Regions from separate parts of the Homo sapiens genome. Here all the other regions are linked to region 1. The links are contacts of gene promoters, found by promoter capture Hi-C in blood cells and fetal thymus (Javierre and others, 2016). All regions are on one chromosome and are shown on one strand. Each heading gives the region's core, a stretch centred on a gene start or on the middle of the fragment in contact. The rest is flanking DNA. Distances are from core to core; before and after follow the strand shown.

The links. The method cuts DNA at HindIII sites, captures the fragments that hold promoters and counts their contacts. A CHiCAGO score of 5 or more calls a contact.
Region 2: a contact is called between a fragment that was not itself captured here and the fragment with the promoter of ACTBL2 in region 1, in 1 of 17 cell types (total CD4 T cells). The highest score is 5.8, in total CD4 T cells.
Region 3: a contact is called between a fragment that was not itself captured here and the fragment with the promoter of ACTBL2 in region 1, in 1 of 17 cell types (fetal thymus). The highest score is 5.2, in fetal thymus.
Region 4: a contact is called between a fragment that was not itself captured here and the fragment with the promoter of ACTBL2 in region 1, in 8 of 17 cell types (M2 macrophages, naive CD4 T cells, naive CD8 T cells and 5 more). The highest score is 8.7, in M2 macrophages.

The regions. Positions count from the first base shown.
Region 1 is chr5:57,477,141-57,484,397 of GRCh38, forward strand. ACTBL2 (actin beta like 2) reads right to left here and starts at 5,671. Exons shown (of 1, transcript NM_001017992.4): 1 at 2,878-5,671. The coding sequence starts at 5,567. The coding sequence ends at 4,437. All of the region lies in intron 1 of RMEL3 (enriched in melanoma 3), which reads left to right. The HindIII fragment of the contact is 2,872 bases long and covers 4,106-6,977 here.
Region 2 is chr5:58,391,344-58,398,524 of GRCh38, forward strand. It overlaps LOC105378984 (a long non-coding RNA gene), which reads right to left. Exons shown (of 3, transcript XR_948352.2): 2 at 2,509-2,605. Among named protein-coding and RNA genes, the nearest start is that of PLK2, 65 kb to the right of the region's middle. The HindIII fragment of the contact is 1,101 bases long and covers 3,847-4,947 here.
Region 3 is chr5:58,415,161-58,422,162 of GRCh38, forward strand. No RefSeq gene overlaps it. Among named protein-coding and RNA genes, the nearest start is that of PLK2, 41 kb to the right of the region's middle. The HindIII fragment of the contact is 3,125 bases long and covers 140-3,264 here.
Region 4 is chr5:58,441,578-58,448,953 of GRCh38, forward strand. No RefSeq gene overlaps it. Among named protein-coding and RNA genes, the nearest start is that of PLK2, 15 kb to the right of the region's middle. RefSeq lists an enhancer at 3,936-5,135. The HindIII fragment of the contact is 1,968 bases long and covers 913-2,880 here.

The DNA.
Region 1 (7,257 bases), core at 4,421-6,920:
TTTTTCTCCCCTTTTCTTTCATTTCTGTCCCTCTCTCTCTCTCTAAATCTTTCTCTTTCTTCCTTCTAAATTTCAGCAGCCACATAGATGGCACACGTTCCAAAAGATGAGGTTGATGATCCTTTGACCAATCAGAAGAATAACAAATTTTATGGACAAGTGAAAGACTATTAGAACCCAGCTCCGCTGGAGGCCATTATCCAAAGCAAATTAATGTAGAAACAGAAAACCGAATACTTCATGTTTTCACCTATAAGTGGAAGCTAACCATTGGGTACTCATGGACATAAAGGAGGCAACAATTGAAATTGGGGCCTACTGGAGGGGGGAAAGGATACAAAGTTTGAAAAGCTACTGGGTACTATACTCAGTACCTGGGTGATGGGCTCATTTGTACCCCAAATCTCAGCATCATGCAATATACCCAGGTAACAAACCTGTGTCAGAGGCATGTACCCTCTGACTCTAAAATAAAAGTTAAAATAAAGAAACCACATGAGAAGATCAGAGTTAAGATAAATGAGTGGTATTAAAATGATGTTAGTCTGGGCTGTGTGGTTATGTTGTCCAGCCCGCCACCACTATACTGTATGGAAGGTGGGTATCTTCTCCAGCCTGCCACCACTAGACCATTTCTGTATGTAAGGCAGTTCTCCTGTCTAGCCCACTGCTGCTGGACTCTCTTTCCTGTATGTAAGCTCTTAATAAAATCCCATGTCTTGTTAAAAAATGATGTTAATGATAATTTTGACTATGGAACAAATAACATTATGATGGGGAAAAAATAAAATCCAGCTCTACATGTTGAGATGCATGGGAGAAGTGGACGGAAAAGGAAAGAAAAGAGAGGAAGAAAGGAAAAAGAGAAAATATGCTTCAGAGGAAATATTCTACCAACAAAACAGATGCTAACAGACCAGGAACAGATGCTAACAGACCAGAAGCTGAGAATAGATTGGTAAAAAATAGACAATGCAGAACTGGGTTCACAAGGTACATCAGAATCCATGAACTCACTAACTTGTTAATTCAAATCAGGTTTATCAATATGATGTACCTGGCACTAGGAAAAGGCTGGAGGATTCAAAGGGGGAATAAATACTGTCCCCGTCTCTGTCCCCCAGGTGCATATTGATGATATTGGGGATGGGAATGGTGGACACATGTTTGCGATGTGTTTATGAGGCTGTATGCATGTAAGCAATACAGTAGGGATTCAAGGGAGGAGTTGTCACTTTTTCTTGGAAGAGGGGATCCTTTTCTAGACTTTCGAAGGATCCTTTTGAAATGAGCCTTTAAAATTGTGAACTTTTTTTGTTTCACATTTTTAAAATGAGTTTCTGGTACAGTCCAATGGAAGTATTCAAAATAAGAATTAATCACCATACCAGCCCCAATAATTAGTGATCATAATGCTGCCTGAGACACTTAAGAAAAGTTTTTGTGTTTAGTACAACTTGTTCTTTAAGCACAGTCTGGCATAGGACATTGAATTAATAATTGTGTAATGAGTGAACAAATATGGCAAAGTCCTTGTCACCCAAAGGATTATCCTTTGATTGCCTGGATAATGTAATACTCATATTTAGGCCCTCTGTATTACAGAATTGTGCATTGCATATCTAGATAGGGTATAGTTCAACCTGTATCCCAGGACTACTGTAGCTCACTATTGAAAAATAAGCACATTTATATGTTAGGAAAGAAGAGTAGAAGAGTGTCGGAACTGGCATTGGATCAGTCATGTTTTCAGAAAAATATTACCTGTGATTGGGAAATAACAGTGTGCAGGGAATTGTGATACAGCCCTGGCCTTATATTGCTACTCAGGAGGCATCACAGAGGGAGAATGAAAATCATTTACAGAGGTATGAAATTAATCTGAGAAGGCTGCTTCAGTGATGTCTCATCCTCAGAGGAAGATGGATGAAGCAAGTGTCTGGAGACCTTTCCTGTCCATGGAGCCTGTAATGTGCTGGGATTTTGAATTCTGTGGAGCTGTAATTCCTCTAGTTGGCTGTGCATTCAGATTTTTAGTGCTCATTCTAGACCCACTGCTCTGAGCCCAGGGCCAGGGACCCTATATTTATATAAAGTTCTCTAAATAACTTGGTTGATGAGCCAGGCTAATGATACATGAATAGCATGTTAATCGTATTACCTATGTAGATGTCATTCTTTGATTCTAAAATATAAAGTTGTGAAACAGGCTGTTTCTTCATTAAACTCATCCATAAGTCAGTCAATGTTGATAAAGAGAAGAATATCCCACAACTCTAGGTTTAAGTTTCTGGCATTTTACCAACTTGTTATCTAGAAATTGTAGATTTTATATATAATAAACTCTTAAATTACCACAGTAATTCAAGATTTATAATGCGTAGTTTGCATTATGGGGCTCATATTTTCACCTAATGTTGTGGGGCTCTATAGCTCACTCTCTTGTAAGTTCACATTACCTGTCCCATTTATAGTCTGTGGGTGGGAAGTCATATTTTTTTTTTTTTGGTAATTCAGAATGCAGGTCAGAATGTTTGTGAGAACTACTCACTCTGCAAATGGAATGCATTGCAGCATATAAATCCAAAATATTATGATTATTATTGTTGATGTTGTCTCTGCCTATTAATTACCTGAAGATCAGTTCATCCAGTAAAACCCAGCTTTAAAATTTAGATTATGAGACATCTATATAATGTTAAATGGCTAGCTATCCTTTTTTTAAAATTTGCCTTTTAATGTTTACATGATTAAATGTATGAGGTGCAAAATTGTAACATACAGATGAATAGGTCACACATATAAAAAGAGATGCTATCTGGATCATTCTCTAATTCTAAGGGAATGGTTGAGGAGAAATAACAGGAAATCTAAGTATACAAGTATGAAGCAATTTTAATGTACTGAAAGCAAGTTATATAAAATAAAGTGTTTTTGGAGATTAATTTTGGTTACATGCATTTTAAAGATTATGTTGTCAGATAAAGCCAATAAGGAATAATCAAATTATTTGAAAAGTATTACCTTAAACAAAAAATTCTTACTGATTCCATTTTAAAGATTTATAACATAAGTACAAGTTTCCCAACTAAGAAAAAAAGAGAAGTGATTCCTTCCTCCAGAGTACCTTATAATGCCTGAATAAGCAATCCAAATAAATATTTTAAATTTTCAGAAATTACCCTGAAAAATACAAATAATGCTGATATCCAAATATTCAGAAATCACTGCATAGATTGGAATAAACATACTGGTACTTAAAATTGGTTAATAAATCATCACTGGAGTAACTAAAATATTTTAGACATTATAGGAACATACATTGATATTTTCAAAGATGTTAGTATCTCAGAGACACTTTGCATAAATAAGTATTGCTAGTTACTGGACATAATAAAGTAGAATTATTCTAAAAGCTTTCCAAGGATAAAACTGTGTTAGTATACTGGTAGTAAAATGTATAATTAATAAAGATGCTGCAGCTATATTTTCCCACAGTGAAATCCTTGCACAAGAGAAGTATCTGTAATCCTGGTCTACAGAAATTATTTAAGATGTGCTATTACACTAAGAAATAGAAATAAAATTACCTCTGTCAAATTGTACCATAATGACATTAATTTGATATTATAATATCTATCTCTCTTAAGAATTAGACATTGTCTGTAGTTTTGGTATGAGAAGGTTCAGTAAGAAAGATATTAAAATATAATTTGACCAGCAGAACTCCACTATGAGCTGAAAATTTAGATGATTTATAAACATTAATGGAATGGTGGCTGTCTCATTATGCTTATTTAGTAAGGGAAACAATTAAAATATGTACCTAGTACAACGATGACTTTTGGGAGTAAAGAAATTCACATTAGCTGTTCAGATAGCTAGATACATCAGCATATTTCACAATATATTTTATTTCCCTGGTGCTTATGTATATATGGATATTATTGAACTTTATAATTCATTATCTCCATACAAAGAAGTAAACAAAACAAAGATACTTAACTAGTAAGACACGGCTGCTAAATGCATACGCACCTTTTTTTTTTAAACAAGTTTATACAGCCTGTTCTTGTTAAATATTTTAGCGAGAACTAAGTTTTAAAGCTTGATAATTATAGTTATCCATTCTGAAATGACATTTCTCGTGATTTTACTCCTTGTCACTTATATGTATTTAAGCTGGCCTACCTATCTTTGAACAGTATAGGCAAAGAAAAAGGAATATGGTATTAGAATTCACCTTCACTTGATGGAGAACCGGATGTGGTTATCTGGGTAAGAGCCCAGGTTACTTGGATGGAGAGATGGGTTTGCTGGTTTACACTAGGAAGAGTGACGTATTTACCTCGATTCTACTGAAAGCGGATAAAAGCAGTACCATCACTGTGACCTAGGAAAAGGGAAAATGTAAGCCCACTAATATGGAAGCCCATTCAGAAACATTTTCTGTGAACGATAGGAGGACCAGCCTCATCATATTCCTGCTTACTGATCCACATCTGCTGGAATGTGGACAGGCTGGCAAGGATGGAGCCCCCAATCCAAACAGAATACTTCCGCTCTGGGGGAGCTATGATCTTGATTTTCATGGTGCTGGGTGCCAGGGTTATGATTTCTTTCTGCATCCTGTCAGCAATGCCTGGGTACATGGTGCTCCCTCCAGATAACACGGTGTTGGCATAGAGATCCTTGCGAATATCCACATCGCACTTCATGATAGAGTTGAAGGTTGTCTCATGGATCCCACTGGACTCAATGCCCAGAAAGGAAGGCTGGAAAATGGCTTCAGGGCATCGGAAGCGTTCATTCCCAATGGTGATCACCTGCCCATCAGGAAGTTCATAGCTCCGTTCCGGTGAGGAGGATGCGGCTGCCCTGACCATCTCCTGCTCAAAGTCCAGGGCTACGTAGCACAGCTTCTCTTTGACATCTCGCACAATCTCCCGCTCAGCAGTGGTGGTGAAGTTATAGCCTCGCTCTGTCAGGATCTTCATGAGGTAATCAGTCAGGTCTCTCCCTGCCAGATCCAGGCGTAGAATGGCATGAGGCAGGGCATAACCTTCATAGATGGGCACGATGTGAGTGACCCCATCCCCAGAATCCATCACGATGCCTGTGGTCCGTCCTGAGGCATAGAGGGACAGCACAGCCTGGATGGCGACATACATGGCTGGTGTGTTGAAAGCCTCGAACATGATCTGAGTCATCTTTTCCCGGTTGATCTTGGGGTTCAGGGGTGCCTCGGTGAGGAGGATGGGATGCTCATCTGGTGCCACACGGAGCTCATTGTAGAATGTGTGGTACCAGATCTTTTCCATATCGTCCCAGTTGGTGACCACTCCATGCTCGATAGGATACTTCAGGGTCAGGACGCCTCTCTTGCTCTGAGCCTCATCTCCCACGTAGCAGTCCTTCTGGCCCATGCCTACCATAACGCCCTGGTGTCGAGGACGCCCTATCATGGAGGGGAACACAGCCCGGGGGGCATCGTCACCACCAAAGCCTGCCTTGCACATCCCTGACCCATTATCCACTACCAAGGCAGACAGCTCATTGTCAGTCATGGTGCTGGCTGAGATCTTCCAGACGAGTGAACAGGACAAGTGAATAGACAGTGAGTAAGAGAAAGTGAACAGGCCTAAAACACTCCAGAAATGCTTTCAGACACGGGAGGCTGCACCGGGACCACAGGTATTTAAAGGAACACACTGACTCCGCCCATGTCCTACTCCACCAGTTCCCAGCATTTCTGGATGAGGTCATCTCTGAGGTATTAATGATGGTGATGATTACATAAACAATTAGATCTTTCTACATAAAGAGAAAATTGGCTGCCAAGTGGTCAAATCTCAGGTTCCTGTAATTAGGCAACCCACACATGACCGTCAGCCTGCCTGGTGAGGTCTCTAGATAACTATGATGATGCAGTGGGGGATATAAAAGCAAGATGAAAGAAAGCTGGTGCTAGGTATGGCAACACTGCTGGGAGGAAGGCTCCCTCCTTAGCGTCCCTGAGGATTCACTTTTCCTACACTAGCTTACCTTTTCATTCTTAAGATACTGTTCTGATGAGGGGTCTTACCCTGCAATCTTCACTTTTTCAAGATTTTTGTTTCCATTAGATTCCTAATCCCACAGGGTGTCATCATCGTAGAGACTGTTTTAGTAAATGAAAATAATAAATGGCTAAGGATGGCCTGATGGCTGTAATTACAATGCACTTGTGTCAAGCAAAATGTAGAGATATTTAATAGACTTCTAATCCATCAGAGATCAAGCGAAAGGAATAGAATGATTGCTAAAGTTAACCCATATAGATACTTTTTTCTGATATAAATTTCTAACAACCAAATTTCATTAAACATTTACTGTGTCTAGACATTGTTCATAGAACCAGGTTCATTGGGTCCATGTTAATTGTATAATGACTGAATGTCAACTATTTTGCATGATTTATTAAGATGCAGGTTATAAAAATTTATTTATTTGCAACAACTCTTGAGTTCTGCAACAATGGACAAAATGAAGTGATAAGACAAATTTGAAAAATTATATATTTAAACTAATCCTTAAAACATTTTGATCTTCAAGATACATATACTATATTATAACATTAAACCTCTATGTAGTTATTAAAATCTATACAATTAGAATTATACTAGCTTTCCTTCCATTTCAAGATATATTACACCCTGATCACTTCATAGCAACAATTTGTTTGGGTTCCATGTTTCATATAGAAATACAGACTACCTGAAAAGATGTGTATGATGGTAAAATGTAGGACATCAGCAATGTGTTACAGAGAAATAGCATTTAAGAAAGCTCATTACTTCTGCTCCCCTATGTGTTAGGCGAATAGAATATAATTATCTTTGTGAGCTCTTGTAAAGCAAAGAAATTTTCCATGTCTACATCTGAGTTCTCCAAAATAATCTTTATTTGGGTTCATCATTCATTCATTTACCCAATAAAGCTTGCTTTGTAAGAGGTAGCACAGCCCCTATTTACTGGACAAAAAACACCCTCCAGCTCAAGGCCAGGAGAACTAACCTGAGTCTTTGCCCAGTGAGCCTCTTGGAGAGTCATGGTGTAGCATCAAGCTGTGAGCATCCAGCCCTCTTCTTTGTCTATAGCTTGATATAGATTTATTTTATCCAGTGCTGTAATATGCCTTCAAAACCTTTCTGGTGACAATCAGTCATGGCAGAATGTATGTTTCATCACAAGATCCATGGTTTTGCTTTAGGGCTC
Region 2 (7,181 bases), core at 3,147-5,646, 910 kb after region 1:
AGAGCTTATTAAGAATAATGTTAAGCTTTAAAAAATGTAAACAAATACCTATGTAAAGGAAGAGCTATATCATATTCATGGATGTAAAGAGTCAGTATTATTGACATAGTAATTCCAACTTAATTTATAAATTCCATGCAACAAGATATTTTGTAGACCTATGTTTTATAATGCTATTTTCTGCCAAAGCTGATCAAAAAATTGAATTTTATAATGTACCTTCTTTTAAAAATATTACTGTTTTTAATGTAGTCATTCTTTTCATCTATGGTTTGTGATTTCTATATTGTTTAACATACCTTTCCCTATCCTGAGGTCATAAAAATAGTCTCTATGTCCTTTTCAGAAGGACTCCCCTTTTTTCCTTTCAGTATAAACCGTAACCTCATGAAACTTAGTGAACAGGTTTCAGGTTACAAGGTGGAATTCTACAGAGCACATTGATGGAATATGTCTGCTAAATCCTCTTCAAGACCTTACGAGTAGAAGAAAATACAAGCTGTTTCTAATCGGGTTCTCAGGAAGGCCATTTGCTTAGTTCAGGCAGCCAACATCAGCCTATGCTAGGATAACGAGAGAGACTTGTGTTTTTGTCATTAGACAGGAAACTTGGGCTCAGGGAGACACACTGGCCGCTCCTCCACACCCCTCCAACTCTCCTTCAGAACTCTATCTTTGCCATGAGTATTCCTGAATTGGGGCTACACTATGTCAGCTCCCATTTTTATTTTTAACAAATAATCTCTTTCTCCTTAGGCTCCACAGTGCTTTTTAAAAAGAAATTCTTTAATAGTTCTCTAAACATCAAGTTTTAGTCATCCTCTTCAGTAATTGTTTCTTTAATTGCTCCTTAAGAAATCAGATTTTTTGGCTGGGCGTGGTGGCTCATGCCTGTAATCCCAGCACTTTGGGAGGCCAAGGTGGGTGGATCATTTGAGGTCAGGAGTTTAAGGCCAGCCTGGTCAACATGGTGAAACCCCATCTCTACTAAAAACACAAAAACTAGCTGGGAGTGGTGGCGCATGCCTGTAATTCCAGCTACTTGGGATTAAAAAAATAACAACAACAACAAAAAAACAGATTTTTAAAAATTGTTTTTGTCAGTTTTGGTCCCTTAACTCTTCCTTCTTGATTTCTGTTGACAATCATAGAAACAACTACCGAGGCTGCCTCTAGAAATATTCAGAGGCTTCCAAGCTCCTCTTTGGGAAACACTGATTGGCAGAACTGGCTCTCAACAGCATTTATGAGAAAGGGTTTTGCTGTTCCCCCTGCTGTGTTTCCCAGCATCTGTTCATTCTTACTGCTTCCCCACCCCAGATTTCCCGGGGCACAGCTCTTAGCCTCCACGTCCCTTCACCTCAAAATGCAGCAGTCCATCTTCTATTCCCTGTCTGAATCATTCCGCTAAATTAACCTGATAAACCAATCTGCATTGATTTGTGGTGCTGGGTAGAAAGTGGGCTTCTGTCTTGCTGCTTCTCCTTGATATGTTTGCATTTTAAAGGGAATTTTAAGCAGTCCCCACTCATACAAATAACTGACTTTAATATGGAAATAAAATATCTCATTCAGAGCAGGTATAGGGAGGCTAAAGTCAGCTCATGCATGTGAAAAATAATAAAGCCCTCGATAGATTTAAAGAGTGATTGTTTTTATTTCTCTCACGGGCAAGCAAAGGAGGGAGCTCTTCGCTCAGTTGCTTCTTAGGCCCCTTAAGGTACATCATTTAGGTGCTGCCTATTTCAGCACAGGGAGCTGGGATTATAGGTGCTGCTCTAATTCCAGGAAAACTGCTATGGCAGGAAAATTAAAACAAGGAGGGAAGATAGAACCCAAGATATATGCCTAGAGACTTCATACATAAGTGTGGGAAAGAGGTTTGAGATAATCAGCATGGTTTTCTAGCATGAATTATTATGGATACAAAAGTGATCACCCAGGCAGCGTGTGAGAAGGGAGGAAGACTTGCTGCCTCCTCAGCCTGGTTCCTAGAATGATTATGCAGGGAGCTTACCTGAGTTCTGAGAAGGGAGGAGGACTCTGATTGGAATCCTGGGAAGCAACTATATGTAAGAATCAGGCCAGAGAAGAGCAGCTTGCAAGGGACATGTTCAGAGGGGTGGGAAGAAAAGCAGGAAGTAACACCACTACCAAAATCACCTATCATTTATTGGCACTTTCTGTGTTAATCTTTTCATATGCATTTTTCTCCTAGTTATCACAGCAACCCTGTGAGATAGGAATTATGATCTCTCTTAAACAGACATAAGTCAGAAACAGCAAGTAATTTGCCTAATCCACAGAATTGAGGATTGTCCTGTTGGGGTTCTATGGATGAAACTATTGGCTCCACTTCACAACTCCCTGTATTCACACCTTTTGCCATGTGACTTTGCGGTCCCTCTTACCGGAGGCATGGTGTACTTCCTCACCCCTTGACTGACTTTGAGCTTGGTCATTTGAGTTTTATAGACAAAAGGAATGTGGGCAGAGATAACAACGTACCTGTTTCAAACTAGGACTTAAGAGGTATGCCAGGCTTCCACTTGCTCTCTTGTGTTTCTGGCATCACACCAAGCTTGCTGCGTCCTCAGCCTGGTTCCTAGAATGATTATGCAGGGAGTTTACCTGAGTTTTATCTGCAGCTAGCTGGATCTGCAGCTTGAGGTACACTCACCTAGCAGATCCCCAGCTGATCCACGTGACTAAATCTGGCTGAACCATCCCAGCTGATGTTCTGACATATGAGAAATAAATTCTTATTATTGTATTCCATGAAGAGTATATGGTTATTTTGTTACACAGCATTTTTGAGGGAATAGCTAACTGATGCAGAAGTGAACTCAGACAGTATGATTCCAGAATCATACGCTCTTTTTGAACCTTAAAGATATCAGGGAAATCAGAAAAGTCGAGTTTAAAGAGACAAAGAGTAGCCATCGTGGCTATATGCTGCAAGGTTAAATAAGATAATTGTAAAATGTAGCATTTCAGAGCATTTTCTGTATGCACAGGTTTGAATTACAATGCAATACTTCAGCCAAACCACAGACAAGCAGCAGGTACAGAAGTTTCACGCAAGAACACTGTGACAGGCAAGCAGATGTCTCCAGAAAGAAAAGTCTATTTGAACAACTGGCAGACATGAATTCTACCTCTAATGCTGGAACATCCGGCAAAGAAGCCTTGAGGGGAGGTGACTAAGTAACAACAACTATGGAAATCAAGCATAAGCTAATTTGCTGTACATCAATACTGTAACCTAGAAAATCTATGTTTGGTGATGTGTGATCCACAGGCAATCACCATAGAGAGCAAAGCATAAACATAATCAGACAATTTAGGTCTTACTATTCTATCCTTTTTTATTTGATCATTTTTATTAGACATAGGTATATAATGATCATTTTGAATTTACTATAGTTTTATTTTAATCTTTCAAATACAATCAAGAATATAAGATATTGACAAAATGGATAATTTCTTATTTGATCCACAGAAAATGTGTACATATTTGATCTTAGTCAAAGGTTGTGAGGCAAGAAGAGCCAGAGAGAGCATCTGGATGCTTGAGCTTGAGTATTGAGTATTCACAAGCACTATACCTGACCTTACTGTCCAGACTGCATATATCTCATCTATAAGAGGAGAGCAAATCAATCATAGTACTTGCTTCCAACCTAGATTACTTATATAACAGCCTTTCAGCTCTAAAATTAAATAAATCTCTTAAATATCACATAGAACTCTTGTGATTAACTTCTTAGAACATGTTGCTAGAAGAATGAAGGAATTTTTTAAAGAAGGAAGCTTGCAATCCCTGACAAGACTGTGATATGCGGAAGCTTACAACCAATCCCCACCCCCACGAACAAGGCTAAAGAAAAAAAATTTAATGAAAAACTTTCATCAGAATTGGATCTAAGGAACTGTGCAACCCTTTACGACAAAAGTTGATGATTTTGGTTTAGATGGAGTGTGTTTAGAATAATATCAAAGACTGACTCACAAATCCTCTTTTCAAAAGAATGGAGCAATATTACAGAGAATAAGCAAAGGCGACCCCAGGAATGAAAACCCTGGCAGAATATTCCAGAAGACTTTACTTTGGAGGGCTTGGCCAAGTCCCAAAGGGCACTAGAGAATAAAGTATCACCGCCATGGATTAACAGCAGCTCGAGTCTCCAGGAGCAGCACTCTGAGAAACAGTAGCAGCTATACCCAGTGAACACCATGGGAGAAGTGTGCGTCTTTATGACCCAGCTTCTCAGTGGAGTCAAGAACTGATTCCAACACGAGATGGTACTTTCAAAAATGGAGACGAATCCCCTAATCTGAAGGAGGGAAAGCTAAAGATGATGCTAGACTGCAGAGAGGTGGGGACCAGCTTACCTAGAGCTGCTGCAGTTGAAGAGCATTCAGGAGCAGCTGTGCTGGAGGGAGACGAGGTCACTGCTTCTCTGCGACCGGACTTTCTCCCCAGTGCGACCAGTTTGCTCTGATCTGCGAGGACCACTTTTTAAAAATAGAGAGATCCCCGGTGGAAGAGAGAATCCTCTGCTTCAACAGGAAATCTACAGCCTCCATGAGGGAGATCCAGAAAAACATAGCCACACTTTGTATCTGGAGTACAGATTGGGCCAAACTGAAAGCCAGAGACAGAAAGTTGGTCCCTGGTGCAGGGGTCTTAACCAAGATTTTTTAAAAAACATGCAGAGCAAAAATTGCCCTCCTGAGACTCTATACCACATCCTCACTCTCATTTCCCCTCCAACTATAGACACCCAAGTTCCGAATTGGTAATACAAAGACTTTTTTTCTTAATTTTCATTCAGGATTCCAAACTAATTTTGAAAAGGAAGGCCTTGTCAGAGCCCAGGAAAACCAGGAAGAAACCATAAGAAACAGCATAGATTATTTGGGGGCATCTACTAAGCCCAGATAAGCTTGTCCTTATTCAAGAATGAGTAACCAGAAGAAGAAGAAGAAAAAAAAAAAGAACACTTTTGAGTCTATGATGGGATTCTGCAATGCAAAAGAAGACAAAGCATGAAAAGATCAGGTGAAAGTATCAGCTGAAGAATGACAAAGTTTATAAATTTCGAAAGGAGACCTTGATTTCTCATAAAGTGTTGCAACCTGCAGGTTGGCTATTCTGACAGGCTAGGAAGCATAGCCTCAGCCAGAAGCTGGGAAGGGGCAAAGGGAACAGGAATTTATAGGAACAAGATGGACAAATATGCATATTCAATAAACTATAGGAGGAGTTATGAATATTTATGAGAGGAGAAATGTGCACATACGCAATGGAGTTCAATGCTCCTTCGTGGGTCCCATGTACAAAAGTGGCTGCATTAGCATCATCTAAGGGTGGCATTTTCAGTTCTTCTATGTCAAAAGGTGAAGCAAAGGACACCCTTACTGCACATTCTCCATAGACTAACCAGAATCGTTCTGTGGTTGGTGGTCTCTTATCAGGCAGAAAAGGAGGGGCAGTGTCAGCTGGTTGGTTGATATCAGTGGTGGACTCTTGAAAGGGCTGGTTTCTGTTCAGCCCTTAGAGAAGAAAGCCTCATCCTGGTTAGAGAGGGAGGAGGTACAATGAGGCGTGTCTAACCTCCCATGCTCTCATGGCTGAGAACTCAGTTTTCAAGCTTATTCTGGGGTCCTTGGCCAAGGGATGGTCTGTTCAGTCCATTGAAGGGCTTAAAAGTTTATTTTGATTTCTCAAGAGTATACTTTTAAAGATTTACTCAAGGAAACGTAAGTGAAGTTTTAGGTAGAAAATGCTTTGGCTTCTCAAAGAAATTAAAGAAAGCATGGTAAAATGAAACAAAGATGATAACACAGAGGCTGGAGATAAAGTGATAGTAGGCAGAGCTGAGATAAAGTTTTAAAAAGCAAAACCAATGCAGAATTTTCAATAGTATCAATAGAAAACACAATCTACATTGCAGAAAATTAAAGTACTGATAAATACTGCCTTGAAAACAATCACTTAGATTTCATAGGAAAGAATATGAAGAGATCATTAGAACATCAGAGAAAAGATGATAAACATAAAAAACAGTAAAAACATAGAAATAATTTGCTTTTCTAAAAATATTAGAATAAATGACATGAAAATAATATGGAAAGCTATAGTAGAATCCCGCCCATCAATCTGATAAAAGAACCCTTTGGTCGAAAAGAAGACTCTTCATATCAGGCAAATTTTACAATAATCAACTGACATTTAAACAAAACCTAGGAAAATCAGTGAATATATAGGATCAAGAAAACTAAAGACACATACAAACACCTACATGTAAAAAAGAACACCTGTGTATCATCAAAGAGAAAAAAACAATCAGACACCTCATGTAGAACATCAGATATGAGAAGACAATAGATCAATATGCAAAGTTTTGAGAAGACAAGACTAGGAACTGAAAATTTTACATTCATTCAAGTTACTGTTGCTGTGTATAAGCAACGGAAAGACATTCCTGTACTTGCAAAGACTCCAGAAGAAAATCTTCAAAATCTGGCCCAAAAATTTAGCCCAAAAAAGTGGATAAAATTAAGTACTCACAAATGGCATAATTGATGAAGAACTAGTGTTGAACACAAAAATCATGTAAGTTACCTTTAAAGTTACAGATGGAATCTACTCACATATTTCTTTTATAAAACAAGGTGAATATCATAGTATTTATAAGAATGTAATAATAATTAATTGGTACAAAGACTGCAGAATTTATAATAGTCAAAAATGGGAGGTGAGTGTGTGGGGAAAAGATATTTAAGTATGCTACTTTCTTAATCTTAACTAGTCAAGCAATAACAGATGCATTTCATTCCTGGCATTGATAACTGGAGTCATTTAGATTAGTAGATTATATAAGGATCTTAGTTTTGTTTTGTACCAGTATTTTCTTTCTTTGGTGAGAATAATCAAGTGATTGACTTTTGAGTTTGCCTTCTAGAATACAGTTTGTTCCAGGCCAAGAATAAATTTCAGCCATGAAACCTGAAATTAGCTTCTTGAAAAGTATGAATTCTTGATGCACAATGAAGCATAATCCATGATTACTGCCAAAAGATGTGCTCTGTTATCATTACCATTAATTTGTGAGGCATAAAAAATCCAAGTATTTTTGAAATTTCCTAAGTATTCTTCATATGATTTGCTGAAA
Region 3 (7,002 bases), core at 452-2,951, 930 kb after region 1:
ATGGATGTATGTCCAATGCCCAGGAAACCTGAGAAGAACCAATTTCAAACATTCCTTTCCCCATAACTAGTGTAATTTTAAATTCATCTGGAGATTTGGAATACTAACCTATCCTTAGAAGGACATGTACCAAGCGTAAAGCTTTGAAGATCTCTTAAACCCAGCAGTTATAAAGCTGGGAAATGAACTGTTGTTGTTGATATCAATTATTAATCGAAAATCAAGGCAAGGTAACAGTTGATAAGTTACTCTAGGCTACACTAGAGTCAAAGTCAAAATAATAGACTTATTGGAAAACTTTTAAGTCCATATATTGGCCCCAGTCTATTAAAAAAATGAATAAACCTATCATTTGATTAAGAATTCCACTTCTGACAGTCTATTCTATATAAATACTATTACAAGTATGAGTAGACTGAAGGGTATACTGATGCCTTTATTCATTTCAGACTTGACCTCGAATCTCTGGGCTTATTCATCAGCTTTAGGAGCCAGAGCAAATTGCCAATTTTTTGCAGCTTGTTTTTGTGGCACTTTTGTGCAAATTACGAAGTGCTGCTAACTCTAGGAGGGTGAATTAGAGCACAAATGAGGGCAGGATGTCAACCCTCACCTACCTCCTTAGTGGAGCACCTCTGTGCAGAGCACAAACCCACCACTCTGTATGGGGCCCAGTCATCAAAATGATAAATTTACTGAGGGTGATGACTTCACAATTTAATCTGTTTTTACAAATCATTATTTAAAGTCTTTGTGTTCTCTGAATTTCAAGGCCCTGGGACAAAGCATTTGCTTTTCTACCTTAATTACTGGCACTAGCATCACCCTATACTTCAGCTCTGCTTCCCCTACCTAACCCTATCAATTACTGAGATTGTGTCTGCTGTGCTGGTCCTTACCCCTCCAGATCCACCTTCCATCATTCTATGCCCTGCTTCCAGCTCCAAAGGGCTCACCTTTTCTGATTGTGTAATCCAGGTCTCCTTGTCCTTCTTGTTGGGTTTGACCAATGAGAGATGAAAAGGCTGGAAGTAAAAGAGAGATAGAGGTATTGATTCCCAAGCCCACCACTCACATCTCCCTGCTTGCCTGTTTGCTGGATTTGGTGGTTTTCTAGGATTATACCTTTTGAACTCTCAGGTGGTCTCACCTCTGTGTCTCCAGGTCTCCAGCTCTCTTGGGATCCAATAACACTGCTTCCACTTGCCTCCCACTCCCCATCCCACCCCATGCTAATAGTTTTCCACTGTTGCCATTTCCTGAGAGCTTCACCATCCATTGCTCCTTCCCTTAATTCAGCCACACCTCTGCAAGGAGTAGAGTTTATTCATGAAACTCTCTTCAGCTAAACCCTTTGAGTGTGCCAGCATGCTCCCTGCCTCTTCTCTTCATCACAGGAAGTCTCAAATTTGTCCTAGTCTTTTCTTTTCCACCTCCCGTCATGGCCTCATGCTCTCTCTCCTAAACATTCATGAATATCTGAATGTAATTGCTTTTTAGCAGCCTGTTCTCATTAACACTGTATCCAAGTGAAATTCAAAGTATATTAGATGGGCAGTGGCGTCATTGAGGACGTGCTAGAAAATTTACACAATAAAAAAATACAAGTTTTGATTTAAGTAACACCGTGTGTGTTTTTTAAGGCTATTTATTTAATCAATACCTACTGAAGGTCTTTTCTAGGTACTCATAACAAAATTATGAGCACTAACAGGCACAACTCCAGTTCCTACTATAACAGAACTTACAGTCTAGTAGAAAAACAGACTTCATCCAAATTTTACTTAATATTTATGTATTTGTTACTTACTATGTGTCAGTCACTATGCTAAAAAGTTTACAATATTTAGTTCATGTAATCCTTTTAACAAATCTAAGGAAAAAATGCTATTATTACCCTCATTTCACAGATAATACTACTAAGACACAGTGCTTGAAACTACCTTGCTATGCTATTACATCTATACAGGAAATGATCAATTACAAAATCACCGCCAAATTTGTTTTAGTGATCATGAGAAACTTGAGTCAATGGTATAGAATAAATTTACTCTTATTCCAGACTTATAGACCTATCTAAAACATACCATTATCATATTTACCAGTTGAACCAAAATGTGCTGCCTGCTGGTATATATACCAGATACTATCTTAGATGGTGGAAACACAGAGGAAAGAGAGTGCTTGAATTTTTAAAATTCCTCCTTAAAATTTGTGGGGAGGTGAGAAGGATGTTGGGGAAGGCATAAAAATACATGGCAGTTGACTTATGTCAGTACAAATCTGTCTTTTCTGAGGCCCCAAATTTCTTTTTCTCCAAGGCTCTAACCTACCCTCAGTGACCCTGCTGATAATATGGGGGAATGACATAGTGCGAGAGGACAATTGCAATAAAAAATAATCAATTCTGTCCTAACATATGCACTACCAATGAAAGAAGCAGAGAGGAGGGACACAGACCCAGTGGGGTGGGTCAGGGAGCACACTGAGAGCTGTTGAGGAATGAACCAGACTTGCAGAACAGGCAAAATTACTCAAGAGAGGTGGGGGAACACAGCTGTCCTCAGGTTCTGTCTAAACGTACCTCATTTGGTATTTTTAAACTTCCTAGTAGATTTAGATACCATATAAGGTGCAAATACAGACTCAGTTCTAGGGCTCATATTTGAGATGATGGTTAGAGTAGCCACTTCACTAGAGGCATTATAAATAGTGGTGAAGAGCTTGGATTTGAGATTCATGTAGACCAGGATGTCAGTCTCTGTCATTTTTAGCTGTGTGACTGAGTAAATTAATTTTCCTTTCCTGAGACTTGATTTTCTTATCTGTGAAAATGTAATTCTAACAACAGCATGTGCTTCACAAGGCTGTTGTAAAGGCTTCATGCCATAACACAAGAAATATGCTTAGCACATTTCTTGAACTATACCCATCTAGACACTTACTAAAGACCTTTAGTTACTACACAGATCTTTTCCTTTGACTAAAGAAATAGAGAAAACCTCAAACAGTGCCTCTAAATATGAAAAAGGCTCTATTCAGCCATTGGGCTTTGGAGATATTTAATATATTCTAATCACAATACTTTTGACCTTTGTGTTTGAACTTGGCTTCCCACTCTTTTAGGCTTCTCCTTTCCTTTCAGTGGCAATGAGGCTTGGGTCCTAACTGTCATAGAATAGTTATCCATACCAGGATGTGATATCAGCCAATTCCACAAACCAGTAGTACTCACTATGTGTTCCTGATGCCTGCGGAATCTGAAGCTTACCTCTTAGGTGAATCAGTATTCATATTGGTAAATATCACTTGACTCCAGACATCTTTCTAAAACCTTGAAAAATTCAAAGCATAACAAAGAAATTGTTATCTTGAATAATTTCAATTTTTGATCGTGTTGTCAACACATTTATGGTTGCATTGTCTTTATTAGGATTCTTTCTTTCACTTTTTAAATCATTATTATTAATAATATCATTTTGCTCATCCTATCTCCAGCTATTTTAAAAACTTGGTAAACTTATTCTATAGATATTACCACTGAAGCCTGATAGAAAAATTTAGAATGTGCGTAGAACTCTGGCAGTTAAATAGAAGTTGGTATATCATCTTTCTATTAATATGAACTCAATTAATCCAAGTTTCACTTTGCAAGTGGTATGTATTTATTTCAGCAGATTAATCTAGCAAGGGAAGTGAAGACCATATTAAAGGTATTTTTGTCTCCAACTCATAAATAAATCATTATTCTACTTTCAGGTTATCAATTCTTATCTAAAATAATCCAGAAAAGAAGATTTTGCATTCTTTTGGTCTGTATGCTAGTGCTGAGTACACAATATTTTTAAAGATTGAAACTAAATTGTTTTACCTGTCCTGAAATCTAATGAACTTCATTGTAACAACAGCTTTCAATATCATGAGTTTTGCAAATTTGTGTTATCATGAACCCTTAAATTGCATCTTTTCAATGTGTTAGTACATTTAAATAAATTTATAATTCATTTTTATATATAAAGCATTTATGTGATTCAGTAATAAATAATTTATTATAATGGTAACTTGTATAATTCACTCTCACAGCTTATACCCTTTAAAGTTCTAGATTAGAAGGGAAGATGATGGAAACTGTTGCCAGTTCATCATAAACAATTTCATTTCATTTTTTTCCACTATACATATTGAGATAATATTTCCCAGGTACCCTTTGTAGTTATTTGTGGCCTTGTAAACTGATCTCTGGCCCATGACATGTAAGCAGAAATTATGTGTACCATTTAGAAGTTTAAAAGTTTAAGATGTGGACACACCTTCCGCACTATCTTTCTCATTGTTTGCTGGATCAGTGGAAGTCCCCAAGAACCTAGACTAAGGTAAAGACACAAAATGGAAGAAGCTTGGGCCCCTGGGTCATTAGCACTGGACTTCTACCTGAGAAGGGGAAATTGGAGATTTTAAGTTAAGTGTGTTGGGAAAACATTGGGAGGTCTTAAGCAGGGAGTGCTATAATCCCCATGATAGGAAATGGGTTGCAAGGAAATGTGGTAGCCATTCTCCAAGGTAGTCCCTAATGACTCCCACTTCCAGGAGTTCATACCCTGGGAAGTCCCCTCCCACATTGTACCAGGGTTGGTTTGCATGATCGGTAGAATACAGCTGAAATGATGGCATGGCATGTCCAATATTAGGTATTAAAGACACTGTTGTTCCCATCTTGGTCACTCTCACTCTCTAAGAGCACTCATTCTGGAGAACATCAGCTGTCATGCTATGAGCAGTCCTGTAGGGAGGCTTACATGGTGTGGAATAACCACATGAGTGACCTCTCTTGGAAATGGATCTAACCCTAGTTAAGTTTTCAGGTGACTACAGCACTGACCGGCAGTGTGACTGCAACCTCATGAGTTACCCTCAGCCAAAATCATCCAGCTCAACCTCTCCTGGATTCCTGACCCACCATACACTGAGTGGTATAATCAGTGTTTGCTGTTTTCAGCTGCTTAGTTTTAGATTAATGTGTTTCATAGCAATAAATAACTAATATAAGAGACAAGAGTAGAAACAGGATGATCAGGCATAAAGACTATTGCAGTGATCCAGGGAAGAGATGGTTATAAATATTAATTAAGATAAATGAGAAGATTATAGATTTGCTTTAAGAAAAGCCTGGCCTGATATATCAGTATATGTGAAAGGACCTGGAAAACCTCAACTCTCTCCATGCAAGATATTGGTGTGATTTGGGGGCAGAAAAAGTCCACTGAAGCTTCACCAAAACGTAAGAGTGACAACATTGATCAGAAATTGATTCTTCTGCTCTTTGCGCTGAGTAGGCCATTCTTGGAGCAATTAGTCCAATTCTGGGTGATACACTTACAATAGAGATTAAGAAACAAGACCTCATGCAGAGAATGCTCTAGAATTGTAGAGTGGCAGCTCAAGCTGGGTGATGAGAGGGGTCACATGGAAAAAAGTGGGTGGAGTTTTTCGATCAAGTGTTCAATGTATGGGGGGTTGGGTGTCAAGGATGGCTTTGAGCTTTCAGACTAACACAACTGGTTGGAAAGGTTAGTCACTGAGAAATGGAATAATAAAATCGGTCTGGGAATTAGGCAAGAAGATCATAAGTTCAGTTTTGGATATGTTGAATTTAATCTAATTTGGGGGGCTCTAAGATGACTTTTCAAATAAACAGTTAAATAGATGGGTACAAAGCTCAGAAAAAAAAAAGGTCAGAGCTGGAGAGCACTGCTGTGAGTTATCTGTACATGTATGTAATAATTGAAGCAGGGGTGCAGATGTGTGAACATCGGGCTGCATCTTAAAGAACTCCAATATTTAAAGATGAGACAGAGAGAAAAGTCCTGTAAGGGACACTGGGAAGGAATGGCCAAAGAGATAGGTGGAAAATCAGGACTGAATGTTGGGTTTTGGAAGTCAAGAAGAAAGATTATTTTAAGGATGAAGTCGTCATTGGGTTAACCACTCGCGAAAGATGCACTAAGAAGAAAACATGAAGAATGGATTCTTCTGTGCTAAATAGATAGAATTCATAAAGCTTCTCTTCCAGAGGATTTTGGTTTTACTTTACTAACTACCTAAATCTCATACTTATGAGAAGGCTAAGAAGCTTTTTAACCTCTTAGAAACACCACGGAAGACCATAGGAGGCTTGGTATAATATATTCAGATTCAGAAGGATGCACAGTACTACTTTTCCCAAACATAGAAAATAGTACTTGTAGGTTATGATTTTATCCGATTATTTACATTAAATTTTAAGGCACCCATAGTCATCATGCTGATTTCATTTTGAAAATGTAGATAAAGATAAGCCTGATATTTCTAAAAGTCCTAACAATTAGAGAAACAATTTGTAATAGTGTGGGTAGGAAAATGAAAGGGAGGGAGAAAGCTAAAGAATGATACAGGCAAATATATCATTAGAAAACTCTAGATCATCCTCATTTGTTTTATTTGTTGTGAGGTATTGGGATGTATTGTAATAGTTTAACTTATTCCTGGTGCTCAATGCTTATGACACAGTGCTTTTTTAATAATGGAAAATAACATACAAACTTGAATCAGACAAACCAGAATTTATATGGAAAGCAATAAAAAATGCACATTTCATCTTCAAAAGAAATACTGGGTCGCTCTTTCCAACTAAATGAAAAATGATATTTGGAAAAAATTTTGATATCTTTCTTATTACATAGTGTATTTCCTGATCCTCTTCCTTCTTTTTCACTTATTTTTATACCATACTGGTATATGGCATTTTATACCATACTGGTATATGGCGTTTTATACCATACTGGTATATGGCGTTTTATACCATACTGGTATATGGCGTTTTATACCATACTGGTATATGGCGTTTTATACCATACTGGTATATGGCGTTTTATACCATACTGGTATATGGCGTTTTATACCATACTGGTATATGGCGTTTTATACCATACTGGTATATGGCGTTTTATACCATACTGGTATATG
Region 4 (7,376 bases), core at 647-3,146, 960 kb after region 1:
TCTGAATAAATGTACATAGCCCGAATTCATTTTTCTGCTGTTGTGCTTAATAAAGCCTAAAAATAAGGTCATAAATGCTTATAGCATGAAAAAAATTTAACCTACCTTTATAGGAAAAGCAATTGAAATCAAAGGTGTGGTAACATAAGTGGGTCATGCTAAATGCATCTTAGCTACATTAAACTCACATGGGATAGCAATGAGTATTTCATGGGATAACCATATAATTCATCTTAGAAATGCATACTTTTTTTGAGATGGGATCTCTCTCTGTCCTCCAAACTGCAGTAAAATGGTGTGATCTTGGCTCACTGCAGCCTTCACCTCCTGGACTCAAGCAATCCTCTCACCTCAGGCTCCTGACACACCAGTTGCACACTCAGGTAATTTTTTTTTTTTTTTTTTTTTTTTTTTGGAGAGACAGCATCTCGCTATGTTGCCCAGGCTGGTTTTGAACTTCTAGGCTCAAGCAAACCTTCCACCTCAGCCTCCCAAAGTGCTGATATTATGCAGTAAACCACCAATCCCAGCCAAATACAAAGATTTTTAACTGACACAAGGCATGATTAAGAGTTTCCCAGGTAAACTGTGTAGTCACCATCCGTATATATGCACTGTGCCTTTGGCAGTACACAGCTGTTCAGTACTGTGAGAAAAAAAAAAAACGGACTGTTTTATCAATAGCAAGCTTAACATGTTCCAAACCATGTAGTGGATATTGAAGGATGCATCTCAGTTGAATTGAATAAAGCATAACTGTAAAGTTATGCTTTATAATTTTGTATAATAAACTGTTTAAAAATTATTCAATTAAGATTTCTTGATTTTCCTACCAAATTTTGTTTCTATGTCACTTTTGGACATAGAGGAGGAATAACTCCTTTCTTCATGCCATTAAAGTAAATCAATTGAAGCTTACTCTTCTACAACTATATTAAATTTTAACTTAAAAAATCTTGCTTTAATCACTTCTTGGCCTTTTGGCAAAGAACAAGTGTAAAAGTCTTGCTCTAATGTACTCAGTGTGATATATCCTCATGCTTTGTTTGTTAGGTTCTTCCCCAAAAGTGGTTTATGAAGAAGTCTTTATAGCTTCTACATCTGTCCTGTTCAGTGTAAAGGACTACCAACATGCTCTCTTTTAAACACAAAATGCCTTTTGCAAACCAAAGTGGACATGGACAAAAATTTATTTTAAAACATTTCAGTTCTGCCATTATAAGAAAATAGAAATTTGCAAAAGGCAACTGGAAACCACTCTTTATGATCTGGAGATGGAATATCTACATTGCAAAGTTACCTTAGCTACCTGGCCATCCAGTTGATCTCTGCACCATAAATTTCTCCCTCTAGAAGGGAGATTTTCTTGCTGAGTGAGGTTGTGGATAAAACATGTAACAGCTCTGGAACCACAATGCAATGGTTTGAATACATCCCCCAAATTTCATGGTTGGAAACCTAAAATTCATATGTTAATTAGAGGTGGGGACTTTGGGAGGTAATTAGGATTAGATAAGGTCATCAGGATGGGACCCCATGATGAAACTGATTGCTTTAAAGAAGAGGAAGAGAGACCTGAGCTTATATACATGCTCTTGCTCTCTCACCATGTGATGCCTTCCGCATCTTATGACACAGAATGAAGATTCTCACCAGATGCTAGCTCCATGCTCTTGGACTCCCCAGCCTCCAGAACTGTAAGAAATAACTTCCTTTTCTTTAAAAATTACCCAGTCTGTAATATCCCAATATAGAAATGCAAAACAGACTAAGATATATGATGTCAAAGTTGGTGCTAAATTTCCTGTTTACCTAATTATTGTCCTACTACAAGAAAGATCTGAACTTACATTCCAATCTATCTGACAGGTTCAGGATCTTTTTAAATTAAATGTATCTTATAAAGGACAATTACTTACATATATCGACAAACTATGTTCCAGGGAATATTCTTTGTGATCTTAAAAGGCACTCTAAAGCAAAATAATGTGTCAGTGTGTATAAGTTTGGAAAAACTTTTGCACTCTATTTCTCTCTTGGAGATTCATAACGCAAATTTAGGATATGGAAGTTCTAGAAAAATCTTGACTTAAAGAAATCTGTTCATTTTATTGAAGCCACCAATTCCCAAAAGAATTTGCCAGTTAATATGTTTTTCAGGAAACATTTTATAATATCAAAGATATTTGGAATTCCTGAAAATACAGTTGGGGAAATTTTTTAAAGATAGTTGAGAAGGGACAATAATAAGAAAAGGCAACATAAAAGGAGTCAAAATGTAGGAAATGTTTATATGACTTACCTTTGATTTTGTCAGTCATAAGAGAGTAAACTGGCTGGGTGTGGTGGCTCATGCCTGTAATCCCAGCACTTTGGGAGGCTGAGGCGGTTGGATCACCTGAGGTCAGGAGTTCCACGCCAGCCTAGCCAACATGGCGAAACCCTGTCTCTACTAAAAATACAAAATTTAGCTGGTTGTGGTGACATGCATCTGTAATCCCAGACACTCAGGAGGCTGAGGCACAAGAATTGCCTGGACTCAGGAGACAGAGGCTACAGTGAGCCAAGATCGTGCCACTGCACTCCAGTCTGGGTGACAGAGCGCGACTCCATCTTGAAAAAAAAAAAAGGAAAAAAGAGTAAATTGCTCTCTCTTTGGGATATTCCTCAATTTGATTCCCCCAGGAGCATGATGAAGGAAACAATTAATAATTGAAAAATTCTAATGATAAATTAAGTATAAGATATTCTCTTTATTGAATGACAACAGTATAATATGACATAAATATCAATAACTACTGACATCAATATAAAACAAAGAGGTAATATGAATAGAGAAATAATAAAGATATAATATTAAAATAATTAGAGAGGGGAGGAAGCTTACTTTCTAATTTCTCCTCTTGCTATATTTTCGAATAAGAAATGGTTTTTGTTGTAGGTCAAAATGGTCAAATACTCTCAATATTATATTGTTCTATCTAATGAATTCTAAGACACTTTTTATTATTATATTTGTTTTATAATATAAAAAATAGGATCAGTGTCATGTTCATGATTGTTCAGCAAGCAATTGACCCAGTTGCTTCAATCTTGACATATCTAATTGAAATTCCAAATGTTTTCTGCTATATGGTTTTAACTTGAGCAATTGTAGGATGATTGACTTAAAATAAGCATATGTGTGTGTACCTCTGAAGGAGAAAAAATCTGAGAGAAATATATCAGATTCTACAAAACTCAACTGTTATTCTGTTTCTTTAATATCTAGGTAGAAAGTTGTATTTGGAGGAAGATTTAATTGCTTCAACTCAGAGTATATTATTTATTTAAAACCAAAAAGCCTAGTGCTTCTCTTGTGCCTATTGTCAGTCACTGGCCCTTCCCTATGACTAATCTATATTGAGGATATTTGGAGTTTAATCCTGAGTCACTCTGTAGCAAAACTGCCAGGTATACCTACAGGATAGTGAATAGAAACATGAAAGGTTTGCCTCATTAAAGAATTCATGAGGTTAAATCCATATGTAGCAGGTGCAACTTGCTGCTATAGCTGCCCTTTTGCCACCCATATATGTTGCTTTGCCTCAGATGATTATCTTATTCTCTCTCCCCATGTGGTAAAAAGAATGAAGAGATTAGCCACATAAGCTCACATAGTCCAGGTATTTCAGAATCAGTAAAGTGAGTCTATTCACAAGCCTAACAAAGGAAATGAGGATAGATTATGGCAACTGCTAATGAAATTTATATTTCAACCAACAATACAATTAAGTGAGGGATGATCTCTTGTTCCTAGTTGACTAAACTGCAAAATTCACCTTTATCCTAAATTTCATTATGAATTTAAGAGAATGATATGAGTTGAATTTAATAACCTTATGTCGATCAGGTGAAAATTCAGGAAGAAAAGAAGCCGTCTACATCGCGGTGGATGCCTTGGCTTATGAAAACTTTGGTAGGTCTTTATTTGTCAGACTTATTCTTCCATTTCTTTTCAGTGCTACCGAAACAGGAAAAGTTCCCTCGTCACCCTTGCAGGGTGTGCGGTGGGGGTGTGTCCTGCTTCTTTGGTCAAATCTCTAGGGGGAACATGCAGACAGGCTCTGGGGCTCTGAACTCACAGCAGCATCTAGGGGTGAATGTTTACAGCACCGGAAGCTCCCGCAGGCATGTGTTACCATGTGCTCTTTTAGTTTTGCCATCTGTAGGTGGCTTGTGTTTAGCAGCTCAATCAGACCCCCTGACTTATGGCAATGTGTCCGGAATTTATTCCTTCCAGTGGGTTCTTGGTCTCGCTGACTTCAAGAATGAAGCTGTGGACCTTCACGGTGAGTGTTACAGCTCTTAAAGATGGTGTGTCCGGAGTTTGTTCCTTCAGATGTGTTCAGAGTTTCTTCCTCCAGCTGGATTTGTGGATTTGCTGATCTCAGGAATGAAGCCGCAGATCCTCGCCATGAGTGTTACAGCTCATAAAGGTAGTGCAGACCTAAAGACTGAGCAGCAGCAAGATTTACTGTGAAGAGGGAAAGAACAAAGCTTCCACAGCGTGGAATGGGACGCGAGCAGGTTGCCGCTGCTGGCTCAGGTGGCCAACTTTTATGCCTTTATTTGGCCCCGCCCACTTCCTGCTGATTGGTCCATTTTACAGAGGGCTGATTGGTGCGTTTTTACAGAGCACTGATTGGTGCATTTACAATCATTTAGCTAGACACAGAGCGCTGATTGGTGCGTTTTTACAGAGTGCTGACTGGTGCATTTACAATACTTTAGCTAGACTCAGAGCTCTGATTGGTGCATTTACAATCCTCTAGCTACACAGGAAAGTTCTCCAAGTCCCCACCCGACCCAGGAAGTCCAGCTGGCTTCACCTCTCAGCAAGGACAGAGGGCTTTCTGTATCCTGGGGTTTCTTGCCTTGGTGTACCAAAAGAGTCAAATCACACATGGGCTTGGAGAAAGAGTGCAAGGGTTGAGTGGAAGTAGCTCTCAGCAGATGGGGGAGCCAGAAGGGAGATGGAGTAGGAAGGTGGTCATCCCCTGGAGTCGGGCCATTCAGTGGCCCTCCTCTGACCACCCGGCCAAACTCCTCATCGTTCTGCGGATGGATGGCCTGCAAGCCTCTGCTGGTGCCTGTTGATGTGATCTTCCGGGTGCGTTCCTCTCAATATCCAGCTGCTTGTGTCTTCTTCCGCCCGTGTGTTTCTCTCCACATCCAGGTGCTTGTGTGTGTACCCTCTAGGGTCTCGGGGTTTTTATAGGCACAGGATAGGGGTGTGGTGGGCTAGGGTGGTCTTGAGAAATGTGACATTTGGGCAGGAAAACAGAAATGTCTGTCCTCTCCTCAGTCCGTGGGCACAGGCCTAGATATGGAGCCCTAGCCAAAAGAGTCAAATCACACATGGGCCAGGGACCTGCCTTTCTCTATCCAGTACTTCCGTGCCCCAAGCCCGATTTAGTACCTGACCTTTAACTCCACTTAAACCAATAATGCTTAAAAATGGCAGAAGGTAGCTTTGGATGAAGCCCACACTTTCCCTAAAATCACCCAAAGTACACTTTCTGGAATTAAAATCAGCGTTTGTAAACAACTTGGAAATAGACAGGCCCCCTGAAAGTTTCACCTGACTCTGCACTAGGCTCACATTCAAACGTCTGAGGCACCAGCTGAGTGAATCAGGCAAGCAAGGTCCATGGAGAGGGCTGTCTCTTCTCTGGGGGCAGGCACTTCTCAGCTCCAGCTGATTGTTGATATGTAGAAATGTCTGATCATATTGTCTGATCATGAAGTTTTGCAAAGGAAGTCAGAAGTTTTAATTTTCATCTGAATGCTCCCAATGACTAACTGATGACAATTGCTGGAAAATATTTTAAAACCCACTCTAAAACTCGCTGTACTTCAAGCAGATGTCTATTCTCTGGCAATATACAATCTCAGCTCTAAAGGTTTGCCTTATTCTCTACATGGATTCCATCTTTGCCTTTCATTTCTACTCATGTCATGTTCTCAAAAGAATATTACTGGAATAAAATTACATGCTTGTATCAGAAAATTGTATTGACATTCATCTACAAACACAAATTCCCAGGAAAACAGATTGCAAATGAGGTTTTGTGGTTTTGGTTTTTTTTTTTTTTGAGATTGACTTTTATGCTCAGAAGTGGATTTGGTTTTAAAAATCTGACATTCAGTATACTTAAACATCTAGTTCTTCTTTGCATTTTTAAGTTTAATTTTAAAAATTTACATTCTGTTTTTATATCTCAACAAAAGACTTTAAGAGGACTGTATTATAGGATCCCAGTTAAAACTTAATAACTTTCCCTTTACTATTTTATATTGCATTTATAATATACTTGACTTCCTTTTTAAATACTGTTTTGCAATTGTCTGCTATAACAAGTATTCTTAAGTATATAAACATTCTTATAAATTGAGTAAATTAAGCTTAAAAGATGATAAATTTATCATATATTATAATACCAAATTTAAATGTCACAAGCCTTCAGCTTAAATTTCTAAGGCAATATCAGTTACTTAAATTTCAGTTTTTAATTGGGATTATAATACTAATACATTACTATATGTGAAGTATTAACACACAGTTTCAATGTTAGGGTTAAATATAGAGATTCTTTCTGTAACAACAATTATCAATTCAATCATTCAGATTATCTTAAATACTTAACTAAGTCTTCTTAAGATGAAATGGTACTTCGCTAAAGAAGCTATTATGCTATCTAAATTAAACTTTTTGTTTGTAACCTAGGCTGGCTGAGATTTTATATACACAACCACAGCTGTAGACCGGGATATTTACTGCAGTGCCGTCTGAGATGTTAAAAGAATATACCAAGCCCTATTAATTATTCAGAATATAGGAGTGATGTCCTTCTTCTCAGAGCACATATAGTTCACATCCCCAGGCTTAAATTATTATTATTGCTATGTTGGAGCTGGTTTTAAAAGTTTCGTGAGGAGTGATTGTTAAAATTTCAGGAATTGTGCAAGCCAGTTGTTAACACAACCATTATGTAATTATAGAAACTTACAATTAAATAAATTATGTTAAAAACAAAGGCAATAAATACTCTAAACTCATCACTAATTGTTTCCTTACATTTTATTATTATCTATTTCTTGAGGTTATTTATGTCTGTTACATCCATATGCTGGAAATACTTTATAATGATGTACTGCTGTGCATCTCTTTCCAACTCCACATTCAGCGACATCACTCTGGTAGTGAGAAGTCCATCATGGTAAAAGAAATTATACCACAGAAATTGGCAAATGAAACAAATCAAGGTTCTGGCCACCTCTGAAAAAGCTGACTGCTAAACATTTATTAGTATATCAGTAGTTATGTTATTATC